4 separate regions of the Homo sapiens genome follow, and regions 1, 2 and 3 are each linked to region 4. The links are contacts of gene promoters, found by promoter capture Hi-C in blood cells and fetal thymus (Javierre and others, 2016). All regions are on one chromosome and are shown on one strand. The core of a region is centred on a gene start or on the middle of the fragment in contact, and the rest is flanking DNA. Distances in the headings are between cores, read along the strand shown.

Region 1 (3,470 bases), core at 665-3,164, 260 kb after region 4:
CACACACTTCCCCAGTGCCTATTCGCTGCTCTAGTCAGACTCACCATGAGGTGAACAAAACATAATTGTTTCCAACTCCAAGCCTTTGACCTATTAAAGAATCAATTTTTGTATTGGTTTTGGAATTAAATTTTCTATTGAAAATAACTTTAAAAACTGATAAACCTTGTAAGAAGAAAGATCTAAAGAGATTTTTCCTCCCTAAGTTAGCAACAGAATTCACATCACTTATATACTGCTTCAGTTCATTATAACGAGATCAGTGGTCATGGTCAAAATGTTCATTATCTCAAGGTCAGTGAGAAAATTTGACCTGTGACAAACATAGTTTATAACTTCAAGTAAAGAAGCACAGTTTTATCCGAGAAACATGCTAATGACAGATGCAGTGTTCTATAGCAAACAATTGTAATGTTTGGAAAAGTTTACAGTCCTTGGGTGATAACTATAAACATAAACCCAATTTTGAAGGAAAACTCTTGTCTCCAAAGTAAAGCAAAACAAAACAAAACAAAACAAAAACTAGCTAGAAACTCAATTTCCTGCCACCAAACAAATAACGACCTTACATACAACCTTTATCTTGCCTGGTTAATAATCTTTATTTTTTTGTAATCCTAAGAACTGATTTGTAAGTATCCCTCACTCCTCTCCTTCACCTGTTAAAATATAACTCCTAGGATATAATATTCTTAAAAGCGCTTTACCAGATTTTGCCCTTCTGGTTTTCTCACTAGAATATTGTTGTCCTAGTGACCTACTTCTTTTAAAATTTTACTTAAGGCTGAATACAAGATTTTGAGGCTTGATAATTTTATTTTGTTAGAACAATTTTATTCCTCCTCTTGTAATATGCCATCTCAGCAAGAATGCTTTTTCCTTTACCTGTCTGCCCAACACATAGACCACATCAGGACTCATATTCTGTTCCTGGCATCATTTCAAGCCTCCTTTCTATGAATCCCATTGACTATTATATCTGACAACATTGATTTTGGCATTTATGTACCACCAAGAAATTTTTAATAATTTCCCATGTGTTTTGACACCTGACCAGATCGTAAGCTTTTGGAGGAGAGGGAGTTTTCCCTGCATGTCTTGACACTCAATGTATTCATAGAATCATAAACTCTTAGAGTTGAGAGATATTCTAAATTTCATCCAATGCAAATGCATTCATTGTACTTGCATTTCTCCTTTAAAATTTTCCTGCTAAGTGGTCATTGCCAAGAATGGGGAATTTACTATCCCCCTAAGGAGGAGCACATCCCATTTTCAGACAAATTTAATAGAGAGCAAAAATATTGCCCTCCCATTCTCCGCTCTACCTCCACCACCATTTCTGACCATAATTTTCATTCCATAGATCCAATTCTGTCCAACAGGGTTGTACACAACATTTGAATGAGAGCTTTCAAACATCTCCAAACAACTGAGACCCCTTCTCCAGGATCAATATTCCAAAGACCTTCCCTTTTTTTATGTGGCATGGCTTTCAGTCCCCATGTTGAGTGTTTTTACAAACTAATTCCTTGTTTATTCTTTTCTTCCTTGAAGCAGGTCCCTCAAATTACCCCTCCTCTCCTTCAATAACCTCTACATCATAGTCTAACACATTTTCTCTTGAGGATCTTCTCTCCCCAAACCCAACCCAGAGTAAGGCACCTTTTTTCACTTCCTTCCTTGCTGTCTTCAAAGGAAAGCAAGGAGCACTTTTTTTTTGGCAAAGCTTTTGCTTCCAAGCACTATAGGAAAATAAATGAGATAAAATAATAAAAACTCTACAAGTTACAAAAAATGAAAAGTTCTTATATTTAAGTTTCCAGGTCTACCATATTTTACTCCTTCTGAGGAGATAAAAGGAAGACTTGGTTGTCAGTTTGCTACTTATTTGTAAAGGTGGGGCTCACCAACATTCCCTCTACTTCCGACCCCAGCTTGTAAAAGGCCATATGAACCCATTCCTTCAAGAAAACACCTTACCCACAGAATGCAGTTCAGGAAAAACAAGTGCTTCAATGGTTAAATGGTTAAATGTTATAGATATGGGCTTCTAGGCTGCAAGCTCCACTGGATTATCTTACCTAGGAACAAGCTTAACATTTTATTCTTCCTCTTAGAAAGCTTTTTGTTGTCTTCAGGGCATTTATTAATCTAATTTTCACCAAAACCAAAATGGATATATATCGGGGGAACCCACCCTCAATATTTCAATGTAGGTTCTTTCTATTTTCCCTAAGTGTCGGCCGGCTGAGAAATAAAGAGAAAGAGTACAAAGAGAGGAATTTTATAGTTAGGCCTCTGGGGGTGACATCACTTATTGGTAGGACCATGATGCTCACCTGAGCTGCAAAACCAGCAGGTTTTTATTAAGGACTTCAAAACGGGAGGGGGTGTATGAACAGAGATCACATGCTTCAAAGGGCAAAAAAGGAGAACAAAGATCACAAGGCAAAGGGCGAAATCAAAAACTTCTGATAAGGGTCTATGTTCAGATGTGCATGTATTGTCTTGATAAACATCTTAAAAAACAGAAAACAGAGTTCGAGAGCAGAGAACCAGTCTGACCTCAAATTCACCAGGGTGGGGTTTTTTCCCCACCCTAATAAACCTGAGGGTACTGCAGGAGACCAAGGCGTATTTCAGTCCTTATCTCAACCGCATAAGACAGACACTTCCAGAGTGGCCCTTTATAGACCTCCCCCCAGGAATGCATTCCTTTCCCAGGGTCTTAATTATTAATATTCCTTGCTAGGAAAAGAATTCAGTGATATCCTCCCTACTTGCATGTCCATTTATAGGCTCTCTGCAAGAAGAAAAATATGGCTCTATTCTGCCCAACCCCACAGGCAATCAGATCTTATGGTTGTCTTCCCTTCTTCCCTGAAAATCGCTGTTATTCTGTTCTTTTTCAAGGTGCACTGATTTCATATTGTTCAAACACACATGTTTTACAATCAATTTGTACAGTTCAACACAATAGTGGTCCTGAGGTGATGTACATTCTCAGCTTACGAAGATAGCAGGATTAAGAGATTAAAGTAAAGACAGGCATAAGAAATTATAAGAGTATTATTTGGGAACTGATAAATGTCCATAAAATCTTCAAAATTTATGTTCAGAGATTGCAGTAAAGATAGGTGTAAGAAATTATAAAAGTATTAATTTGGGGAACTGATAAATGTCCATAAAATCTTCACAATTTATGTTGCTGTGCCGTGGCGCCAGCCAGTCCCTCCATTTGGGGTCCCTGACTCCTGCAACAGATATATAAAACAAGATCTCAAAAAATGTCAAGGATAGAAATAAGGATTTGGAAGTCAATGGCATATATATTGATAGTTAAAGCTGTGGGGGTGGATACAATATCTCCCTTGGCTGGGCATGGGGGCTCTCACCTGTAATCCCAACACATGGGGAGGCTGAGGCAGGAGGATTGCTTGAGCCCAGGAGTTCGAGACCAGCCAGGG
Region 2 (3,350 bases), core at 188-2,687, 300 kb after region 4:
TAATTTAGATGACAAAATGACATGTATTTGGGCCATCCAAATGTAGAACCTTTTTGGAGCTCCCAGTGTTTTTCCTGTCTGTGTTAGACAACTCAAACTGTTACAAGCAAAAACTATATTCTGGTAAGAGCCCTAAACATTAAAAATAAGCTTGGATAGAGTTGGTAAGCACAATTTCCTTTAGTAGAATCGTACCTAATAACCACTATTAAGCTTGATTTTGTGAAAGCAACAGTAGAATAGTCTTTATTAATCAAACCAAAGGAACTCTTTCAAAATGAACTTCCTGTGCATTTCTAGATTTATGTACATTTTTTTGGAGTGCCTCTCCCCTACCCCCCAATGTTTAAAAAAAATTTTTATTGTTGTAAAATATACATAATATGAAATTTACCATTTTAACCATTTAAGTTTACAGTTTTGTGGCATTAAGTACATTCATATTGTTGTGCATTCATCTCTAGAAATTTTTTCATCTTCCCAATCTGAAACTCTGTACTCGGTGTTTCTCTTTAATGGTTCATTCATCAGAAACAGTAATTCTGTAAACAAAGTATTTTAGGCATGGTACTAATGGGAGTAAGGGAGATATAAATTTATATTTACCTTTTTTTGTGTAGACTGTTGTGGGACTATCATCTATGAGTCATTGTTCCTTGGCCTTTGCTTTCAGAACATCCTAAAACCCTACCAAAATTACACAAGAAATTCTATAGTATCCTCTCAAAACATTTTGTAATCACACTCTGATACTCTACATAGAATTTTAATTCAGTAGAACCAGATCGTTCAGCTAATTCATCTTTTTTAGATATAATTTACAGACAATAAAATTTCAAATTGAGTGCACAATTCTTTTTTGACAATTGTATACAGTTGTTTAACCACCATCACAGTCATGATACAGAACATTTTCATCACCCCAAAAATTTAACTCATAGTTATTTGCAGTAAATTCCTTCTCCCCACCTCTGACGCCTAGCAACCTTGATTTGTGTTTTGTCACTACACCTTTCTCTTTCCTAGGATTTCATATATATGGCATCATACAGTACATAGTCTTTTGATTTACTTTCTTTCATTTAGCATGATGCTTTTGAGATTTATCCATGTTGTTGGAGATATATTGTAATTCCTATTTATTGCTCAGTAGTGTTAGTTGATTTGCTAGAACACAATATTGGAGATATATTGTAATTCTTATTTATTACTCAGTAGTATTAGTTGATTTGATTGAACATAATTTCTTTGTCCATTCACCATTTAATGAGTATTTGACTTATTTTTGGTCTTTGGCTATTATTGTATTAATAAAGCTGCTGTCAACCTGTGAGTGCAAGTTTTTATTTGGGCATACATTTTCATATATTTCCCACCTAGGAATAGGATTACTAGGTCATATGGCAAGTGTAAGTTTAACTTAATAAGAAATGCCAATCTTTTCTAAAATGGCTATAATATTTTGCATTTCCCACCAGCAGTGTATGAGTTTTAATTATTCTGTGTCCTTCCACTTGGTATTTCCAGTCTTACTAATTTCAGCCATTCTGTTGGGTGTATAGTGGTAGTTCATTGTGATTTTAATTTGATTTTTCCTGATGATTAATGACATTGAAAATTTTCCCATATGCTTATTTGCTATTCATATATATATATATATATATATATATATATATATATATATATATTTGTCATTTGTTCTGTTATTACTGAGTTATAAAAGTTAATATGTTCTGGATATTAGTCCCTTATCAAATATATGCTTTGGATATATTTTCTCCCAGTCTGTGCTTTACATTCTAATTTTCTTAACAGGAACTTTTGAAGCACAAATACTTTAAATTATGATCAATCCAGTTTATTATTTTTCTCTTATGATTCATGCCTTTTATAGCCTACCTAAAAAATATTTGCCTAGCCCAATGTCACAAATTTTTTCTTGTTTTTTTTTCCTAGATGTTCTATAATTTTAGCTTGTTCATTAGATCTATAACTGATTTTGAGTTAATTTTTGTATATGATGTGAGGTAAAGGTGGATTTATATATTTTTTTAATGTGGCTGTCTAGTTATTCCAGCACCATTTGTTGAAAATAATATCCTTTCCCTACTGAATTATTTTGAAATATGTGTAAAAAAATTGGTTTATCATGTATACATGGGTGTGTTTCTAGACTCTGTATTTTGTTTTGTTGATCTATCTACCCTTATACAAATATCACATTGTCCTGATTATTGTAGTTTAATAGTGGGTCCTGAACTCAGGCAGTTTAAGTCTTTCAGCTTTGTTGTTCTTTTTTAAAATTGCTGAAGTTACCAGATCTAGGAGCAAAGAGTCAGTTTTTGATGCTGCTTTGACTTGAGTGGTTTAGAGCAGAAGTCTGTTACCTCAAAGCCCTAGTAAATTTAGAGTCTGATATGGAGGGTCTATTATGATTTATTTTATTTTATTTTATTTTATTTTTGCTCTTTCAGCTAGGCACATGTTCTACTTAATTTATATAGGACTCTCATCATCTGAGTTTTATTTCTGAGTGATAATTATTAAATGTTTCTCATGGCTCTGAGTCATATCAATATGAATTACGTATCCCTCAACAATAAACTGTGAAGAGAGAGGAGGTATTACTGTGCCTCAAAAAGCCAGGATGTTTGAAGCTTGATAAGGCTGTTAATTTGCCACGTATGCATTGCTCTGAATTTGTGCAAACTGTCTGTAGTTTGCTTTGTGGTTAACCCAAAGAAAAAGGTGTGGTTGTATTTTTATTCTTAATCTTGAAACAAAGAGACAAAGTATTTTTACACCTGGTTTGAAACTCCCTTATTTGATTATTCTGGGTTGCAATTGCTATTAATATTTTTATTATCTAGATTAATTTCAGGATTTGAATGGCATATTTAATTTAGAGTTTGAATTTATATTAATTTCAGACAGAGGTATGTGTGTGTCTGTGTGTTAGAAAACCCTAAAAAACAGCAGTATGAAGTTTTCTATGCAGTGTTTAAAATAGTAAGGAACTGTTTACAACCTAATTAACATTTGAATGATGTTTTACAAAGATTCTTTCAAAATACATTAGGAATTTTAAAAAATTTTTGTATTTCTTCTAAGTGTTGTTTATATGTGTTAAATATAAAACTATAAAGCAATAAAAATGTACATTCTGGGAAATCAGTTCTGTTGGAATTGACACATAAAAGAGTAGTCAGGAATTTGACACATGAAAAGATACGTGTAAAAGTAATTAGGGGCTGGGCATGGTGGCTCACGCCTGTAATCCCAACACTTTGGGAGGCCGAGGCAGGTGGATCACCTGAGGTCAGGAGTTCAAAACCAGCCTGGCCAACTTG
Region 3 (3,441 bases), core at 63-2,562, 280 kb after region 4:
CTGAAGATTATATTTGCTTAAGAGCTACTTCTGTAAATAATAATGTCTATTAATCTCTAGCAATGGATGAAAAATAGTACATTTTGTGCACAATGAAACTATACTTGCCTCATCATCTAGTGCCAAGAAAAATATGGTGATCTTCAAGAAAGCCGTGTATCTAACACCACTCTCTCAAAGTTTTAAGTATAATCATGTATTTGAAGGTTGTATACTGATTTTAAAGTATCACAAAGAGATTGATCTGCAAATAAACCAAGAACTCTTTATTCTACTTCTCATCCATCACAAACCTTTACTACCCCCACTTATTACCTAAAAGCCCTACCTGTAAAAAATCAAGCAAAAAACAATCCCAACCAAAAAAACTCCAAACTTATCAATACATTTGGAGAAGAAACAGAAATAAGCACTGTTTTCATAGAACTTTAAGCTGGAGGCCAGGAAATATTTAATTTCAAATATTTAAGGACTGTCAGCATTTACCTCTGAGGTTAAGAAATGCTGGGGATTGACAAATTTGGACCACTCTGAGGATTACAAGAACAGGAAGAAAGGGTGAAAAGACAGTACTACAAGTATGTGTATACAAATACATACATGTGCAATATATGTATATTGTATATGTGTATATATTTATATATACTCATATACAAAACATATATGTATATGTATGCAAAGGGAGCTCCTAGGAAGAACACAGGGTTTGGATAACAATTCTAGGAAGAATGTCGGATTTGGATAATGAGAAATGATAGGATCATTACAGAAATAACTTATTTTTAATTCTTAAGTGTCCTAATGTTGGGGATTACTCTACCTAATGCTTTTTGACAAGATCAACTGGGCACCTTTCACTTTGATCCTTAATTTCATAATTAGATAACCAGTAAAACTATCTTTCTAAATCCCTTGGAGGTTGGAGGTAAGATGAGCTTTTACAAAAACAAAGTAAAACTGAAGAAAGTCACACAAACAAAAAAGCTGCAAAGATTTTCTGACAACTTTATTCCAGAACGTTTATAACTTCAAATGTCTTACAAATGAAGCCATTATTAATTTTAAGAGGACAGAAAAGTACCTTGTGTTTTTGTGCGTATTTACTCTAATACAGGGATGAGGCGCTATAGCTCATACAAACTGTGCCTGAATTCAACAGTCTCTGGAGTTGCTGGCCTAAAGAGGGCTACATTTTTGGATGGGGAGCCTGCAATGGCAGCACGAAGTAAGCAAGCAAAGGAAGTAGACAAGATTCAGGGCTGGGGCCAGGCATGGTGGCTCATACCTGTAATCCTAGCACTTTGGGAGGCGGAAGTGGGAGGATCGCTTGAGTCCAGGATCTCAAGACCAACCTGGGCAACATGGTGAGACCCTGTCTCTCTTTCTCTCTGTTTTTAAAAAAATAATAATTAAAAAAGAAAAAAAGATTCAGGGCTGAAAATAAAACCAGAGCCATGGGTGCTGTTGGAGCAGCTGCACTCACCCTTGAATCCTACTCTCAACAATGGCGATGTTTTCTCTTTACCTCATAATCATGATATGGATACCTACTATTTATTGAGTTCCTTCAAACTGTACTAAATATTTTACACACACCATCTCATTATCTTCACAACATCCCTAAAAGGAAGGCATAACAATTAAACCATTTAATCTTTCTAAAAATGCTGTGAGGTAGGTATTATTCTTATTCTCATTTTACAAATGAGGAAACAAAAGCACAGAGATTTAGTCATTTGCTTAAGGAAGCCCAGCCAATAATCAGCAGAGCTGTCTCAGAGCCATTGTTCTTGGCCTGAATGGTACCTGTGCAACTGTTGTTGAATGGTGCTCACCTAAATCCTGTGGCCACACTGTACCAATAAGTGGGAACTATGCTGATGGTGAAATGGGGATTTAAGAGAGGGAACAAACACAAAATGTACTCCCTCGAAGAGCCATGTGACTTGGTTTTGCTTCTGATACTTGAAGTAAATGGAAAATGGCCACTAAATAAGTGACCCAACCAAATAATCATGACACATGAGCAAACTTTCTTGCCTGAGAGAGTTGGAGCTAGTGCCAGTGAGAGAAATGGGATAATAATCTGAAGGTGAAGTGATTTTGAAGATCTCAAATCAAGATGGAGAGGTGGAAAAAGCCCTGGGGACATCTTTTGGGGAGGTGAATCATCTGAATCTCTCATTCTCTTTCTTAGAATTTGAAAAAATCAGTCCGACAGCCACGCAGGAAGTCAGTTGACGACATTCACCGAGTATCTTTGTCATGAGGTGCTCTTTCTAAGGCCTCAAAGTCACTAATTGTGAATGCAGAATAATTACTGTCTTTATTTAATGTTTGCAAGATTGGGTTCTCTAGAAGAAAACTGTTGTCAATTCTGCATGCTATCAAAGAATAGGAAAAGCAATTTGAAGAATGACAAAATCACCACTCCCAAATTCCATACTAGTTTCAGGAGTAATTAGAACTGTAGTACTAAAGAATTCAAATCATTTAGGGGCAACTGCTGTTCTATGACCAGTTTTGCACAGCTGGTCCCAGCTTCCTAGGACTATTTCTGAGCCATAATATTAAAATGGAGCCCCTCCCTGTGTTTTTGAATCCATATGGTTCTACCCAGGGCTCCTATCCCTCCCTAACTTCTGACACATCCAAGCAGGAAAGTGAGCATGCATATTTACATAAGCTACAAGGCTGTGCAAACAGATTGTTAACTGGTTAAAGGGCATTTTAGAAATGGCTGTTATTTCTTACCATTTTTAATGGGTTTTATACATAAAAAATCTTTATATCTTTAAAAGTTCTATCCTTATTCTTCTGATGTGCTTTCCACCAGTCTTTTTCCCTCTGTACAACACTAGACTCTCTCAATTAACTCGTACATCCTTTTTATCACTAAGTGTATAGGTTTTAAAATAACGTAAGTGAATTTTTCCTAGTGTTCATAAAGTGCCAATTAGCTGAGAATTTCCATTATTTTCATTACGGGGTTAAATACGTTTTGTTCTGTTTTGTTTTGTTTTTGTTTTTGTTTTTTTTTTGAGACAGGGTTTTGCTCTTGTCACCCAGACTAGAGTGCAATGACATGATCTTGGCTCACTGCAACCTCCGCCTCCTGGGTTCAAGCGATTCTCCTGCCTCAGCCTCCCAAGTAGCTGGGATTACAGAAGCCTGCCACCACACCCGGCTAATTTTTGTATTTTTAGTACAGACAGGGTTTCATGATGTTGGCCAGGCTAGTTTCGAACTCCTGACTTCAGGTGATCCGCCCACCTCGGCCTCCCAAAGTGCTGGGATTACAGGTGTGAGCCACTGCACCCAGCAAAAAAAAAAAGTGTTCTTTTTTGAAATGCATTTTGCGAATATATTTTTCTTTTATTTCCATGGGCTCCACCTTTGATAAGTTTTAGAGCTTTTAGGTCACACTAGATTTTCTACTTA
Region 4 (3,373 bases), core at 763-3,262:
TATTATTCATTAGGCATATATATCACCTTTACTCCAAAGTCTGCATAATATAAACACAAATCATGAATAAATCAGATTAGAGACACAGACGTGACACCACAAACTGTAGGTCACTAATAAAATTCCAAACATGTTTGCTGACCTGGTCTATATTTCTATCCATTCAAACCTGGGAGCTTCACACAGGCAGAGAAAAACTCCAAATTCCCAGTATTTTGAAAGTCTGCATGGTCTACATTATGTTAGTGATTGTAACTGGAAATTTTTCTATGCAACACACTTTAGGACAACTAGCTTATTTTTCAAATACTCAAACGGATTGGCCTGACTCGGGCAATTTTTCTTCGTAAATCTGCCTCTACTATAATTAACCTCAAATGTGGATGCCACAAGGATACCTGAGGAAAATAACTACAATCCTTACAAAAAGTGAGGGACCATATTTGCTGTGCTACCCCTAGAAAAAGGAGTCACCTATAACTACCTATTATTTTGCTAAAAAGTAGTTTAAGAGTACAATCAAGATTTTTAAAGATACTTGTTGATTGTGAAAAGTAGAAATTTCAGGGGAAAAAGGGAATAACCAAGAGTCATATTGCTGCTATTTAAATACTTTATAAATCCAAGGATCAAATTTCACTATAAGAAGCAAACTCTCACACCCACCTCAGTTATTAGAATATTCAACAACTGCACTTAATACAAAACAGATAGATTAGCTACCAATTAGACTAAGTATTCCAGCTGATCATCTTGGAATTACCAAAAGTAGATTATGTAATGCAAATCGCTCGTACATTCGTTTTAAACATATCCTCGGTTTAGAACACTGAAACCATGCCTTAATTTTTTTAATTGAAAAACAGCGTATTACTAAAATACTGAGTGCATATGTATATCCTTTTCACGGCACTTCAAAGAAACCTGACATCTTCAAATCATTTTACAATGTAAAGTTACATTCTCTAAAACTTCCGACAGCCTCGAAAAAGATACCCAAAGGGGCTTCAAATAGATGAGTCTATAATTGATCTTAGCGGGCAAATAACTGGAATGAACCTCAAAGTTTGAGATCAATTTTTACTAACACCATCTCTGAAAGCAAGAAGGAGACTTCTGTAGAAGGTAAACGATTCTGACCAGCAGGACGTGGGCTCCCGGCAAAAGTGGGTACTAGCATCTCAGCGTAAACGACACGGTTCAAAACGCGAATCTTCCCGCAGAAACTAACCAAGACACCCCCTCCCCCCACGACTCCTCCTGGGTAAGCTCACGGTTTTAGAAAGCAGCAACAGATACTCCAGAGCAGGAGGCGGCACTCCAGGAATGTGTGAAGCTGAAGGGGTCTCCCCGAGGAACCCCGAGGTCGAGGAGCTCCTCTACACTGGAACCCCGACTCCGACCCCCCAGAAGGAAGGAGCGATATCTGCACAAAGTGCCCCCTACCCCACCCCCACGATGCAGACACACATCCCTAGCTGCGAGGCGAAAGCCCAGAGAAAAAACTCGCATTCCACTCCGTCCGCCTCCGGAGTAGGGCTGCAGAGAGGCTGGGGCCCCCGCCCCCGGAGGCGAGGGGACCGCGCCGCAGCGCCGGCCTCCGCGCAGAGGAAAGGGCAGCGAAAGGCTCGCGGCGAAGGAAGGAATCCCGGCGCTTCGCTGACTGGGTCCTCCGCAAACCAGCTCCCTTCCCTCCCACGACCCTCGAAGACACGGGAACAATGAGAACCCGCTTCACCCGCCGTCTCCGCCGCGAGAGCGGCCGGGGGCGGCGGCGGCGCCATGTCCCTTCACACCCCCGCGGACACACACCCCCCCCACACTCCGGGGCCCCCGTCAGTCGCCTGCAACGCTGCCGAGTAGACGCGTGTCCCGGCCCGCTGCTTCCGCGTCCTTCGCCTCCCCGCCCGCCCCACTCACCGGCTCCTGCCCCAGCCCAGGGCTCCGCTGGCCGCGGCCGGAGCAAGACTCTGGTATCAGCTGCCGCGGACGCCGGCGCCGCCGCACAATATGGCGAGCCTCAGCTTCCGCAATGGAGCTCGGGAAATACAACAGGGGCCGCTCAATATTCATGAGAGACTGAGGGGAAGCCGGCTCGGCCGGCGCTGCGGGGAGGGCGGGAAGGAGCGAGCGAGCGAGGGGCGGAGGCGCGGGACGAGGACGTGCACGGCGCGGGGAGGCCCGCGGCGCGAGGGAGGGTGCGCCGCCGCGTGTTGGCCTGGAGAACCCGCGCCACCGCCCCGCCCTGGGCTGGCCGGCCACGCCCCCCCGGCGCCCACCGCGGTCCGACGTAGCCCCCGGGCAACGCCCGGATGACGGCGCAGCCACCTCGTGCTCAACCTTCTGCTTGGGTTCTTCTGCCCTGGCTTCGGCCCACCCTTTACACCTTCCTGGCCGGCTTCTGGGGTTTGGGCTCAGACTTCTTTCTCATGAGTTCGTCCTCTTAAACCTGTCCCACCCGGCGGAAATCCTCATCAGGCTTTGGTTTGCAGAACTTCACATGAACTTCGGCACCCTTCCGCTCTCGTACAACAAACATACACTTTTCATCCTTGCAGGATAAAACTGCAAGTGTAATTGCTCCTGGGAAAATGACCTTCCACTCTAAACTTAGCTTAACATTCTGATTGTGGTCATCAGCTCTTACTATTTACCTTGCTGCTGCTTTATTCCTACCTCCTTGGCCCCTTCCAGTGTTACCTTCTGAACTTGAGGATTTACGAAGTAATAGATTAATAGATGTAATCATTACCTAAAACACAGCCAGTTAGTCTCCAGTAAATTATCCGACATTTAATGCATATAAATTATGAGCTGAAGAAGTAACGAAGAATTGAAAGTTCCCTGATCTCTATATGTACTATTGTTGAGATGTCATGTTCTCTTGAGAAGATAACCAGCAATACCAGACCGTAAATCTGAAGGCATAGAGGCATAAACCAATGGACTGCAGTGGGAATTGGGCAAACTAGGTTCATAGCCTCCAATGTGTGTCTATGTGACTTACGTAGATTGCGTAGCTCCTCTGCACTTCATTTTCTTCGTCTGCGAGATGAGAGAATTGTATTGAATCCTAGGTCCTTTCCAGTTCTTTAACGCTCTGAAACTCTCTATAAGCAATTCCAAATAAATGACATGAATTTACATAGGAATTTGGAAAAGAAAAATATCAATTCCAGCTGGTGTGTTTGGGGATGATTTCCTGAGGAGCCGGGATTTAAGATGGCCTTTGACGCCTTGGATGGGTGGAAAGAAAAAGGACAGGTGTTAAATACAGCACATTATATATGCTACCTAACAATCCATCAAAGAAAACAAGCATTATTCTTTTTCAGTGGCTTGAAAGCTTTTGCCTACTATCTATAACTTTAAA

Evidence for each region. Contacts are between HindIII fragments. The CHiCAGO score rates a contact against its expected background, and 5 or more counts as called.
Region 1: a fragment that was not itself captured here is called in contact with the fragment with the promoter of RNF2 in region 4 in 1 of 17 cell types (total CD8 T cells); the score reaches 5.4 in total CD8 T cells.
Region 2: a contact is called between a fragment that was not itself captured here and the fragment with the promoter of RNF2 in region 4, in 10 of 17 cell types (total CD8 T cells, naive CD8 T cells, non-activated CD4 T cells and 7 more). The highest score is 9.1, in total CD8 T cells.
Region 3: a contact is called between a fragment that was not itself captured here and the fragment with the promoter of RNF2 in region 4, in 9 of 17 cell types (naive CD8 T cells, naive B cells, fetal thymus and 6 more). The highest score is 8.7, in naive CD8 T cells.

What each region holds. Positions count from the first base shown.
Region 1 is chr1:184,783,124-184,786,593 of GRCh38, reverse strand. No RefSeq gene overlaps it. Among named protein-coding and RNA genes, the nearest start is that of EDEM3, 30 kb to the right of the region's middle. The HindIII fragment of the contact is 366 bases long and covers 1,732-2,097 here.
Region 2 is chr1:184,742,588-184,745,937 of GRCh38, reverse strand. The region is part of intron 2 of EDEM3 (ER degradation enhancing alpha-mannosidase like protein 3); the gene reads left to right. Among named protein-coding and RNA genes, the nearest start is that of EDEM3, 11 kb to the left of the region's middle. The HindIII fragment of the contact is 2,444 bases long and covers 216-2,659 here.
Region 3 is chr1:184,758,550-184,761,990 of GRCh38, reverse strand. The region is part of intron 2 of LOC105371649 (a long non-coding RNA gene); the gene reads right to left. Among named protein-coding and RNA genes, the nearest start is that of EDEM3, 5.4 kb to the right of the region's middle. The HindIII fragment of the contact is 8,455 bases long and covers 1-3,441 here.
Region 4 is chr1:185,044,197-185,047,569 of GRCh38, reverse strand. RNF2 (ring finger protein 2) reads right to left here and starts at 2,012. Exons shown (of 7, transcript NM_007212.4): 1 at 1,921-2,012. RefSeq lists a silencer at 2,123-2,382. The HindIII fragment of the contact is 4,610 bases long and covers 1-3,348 here.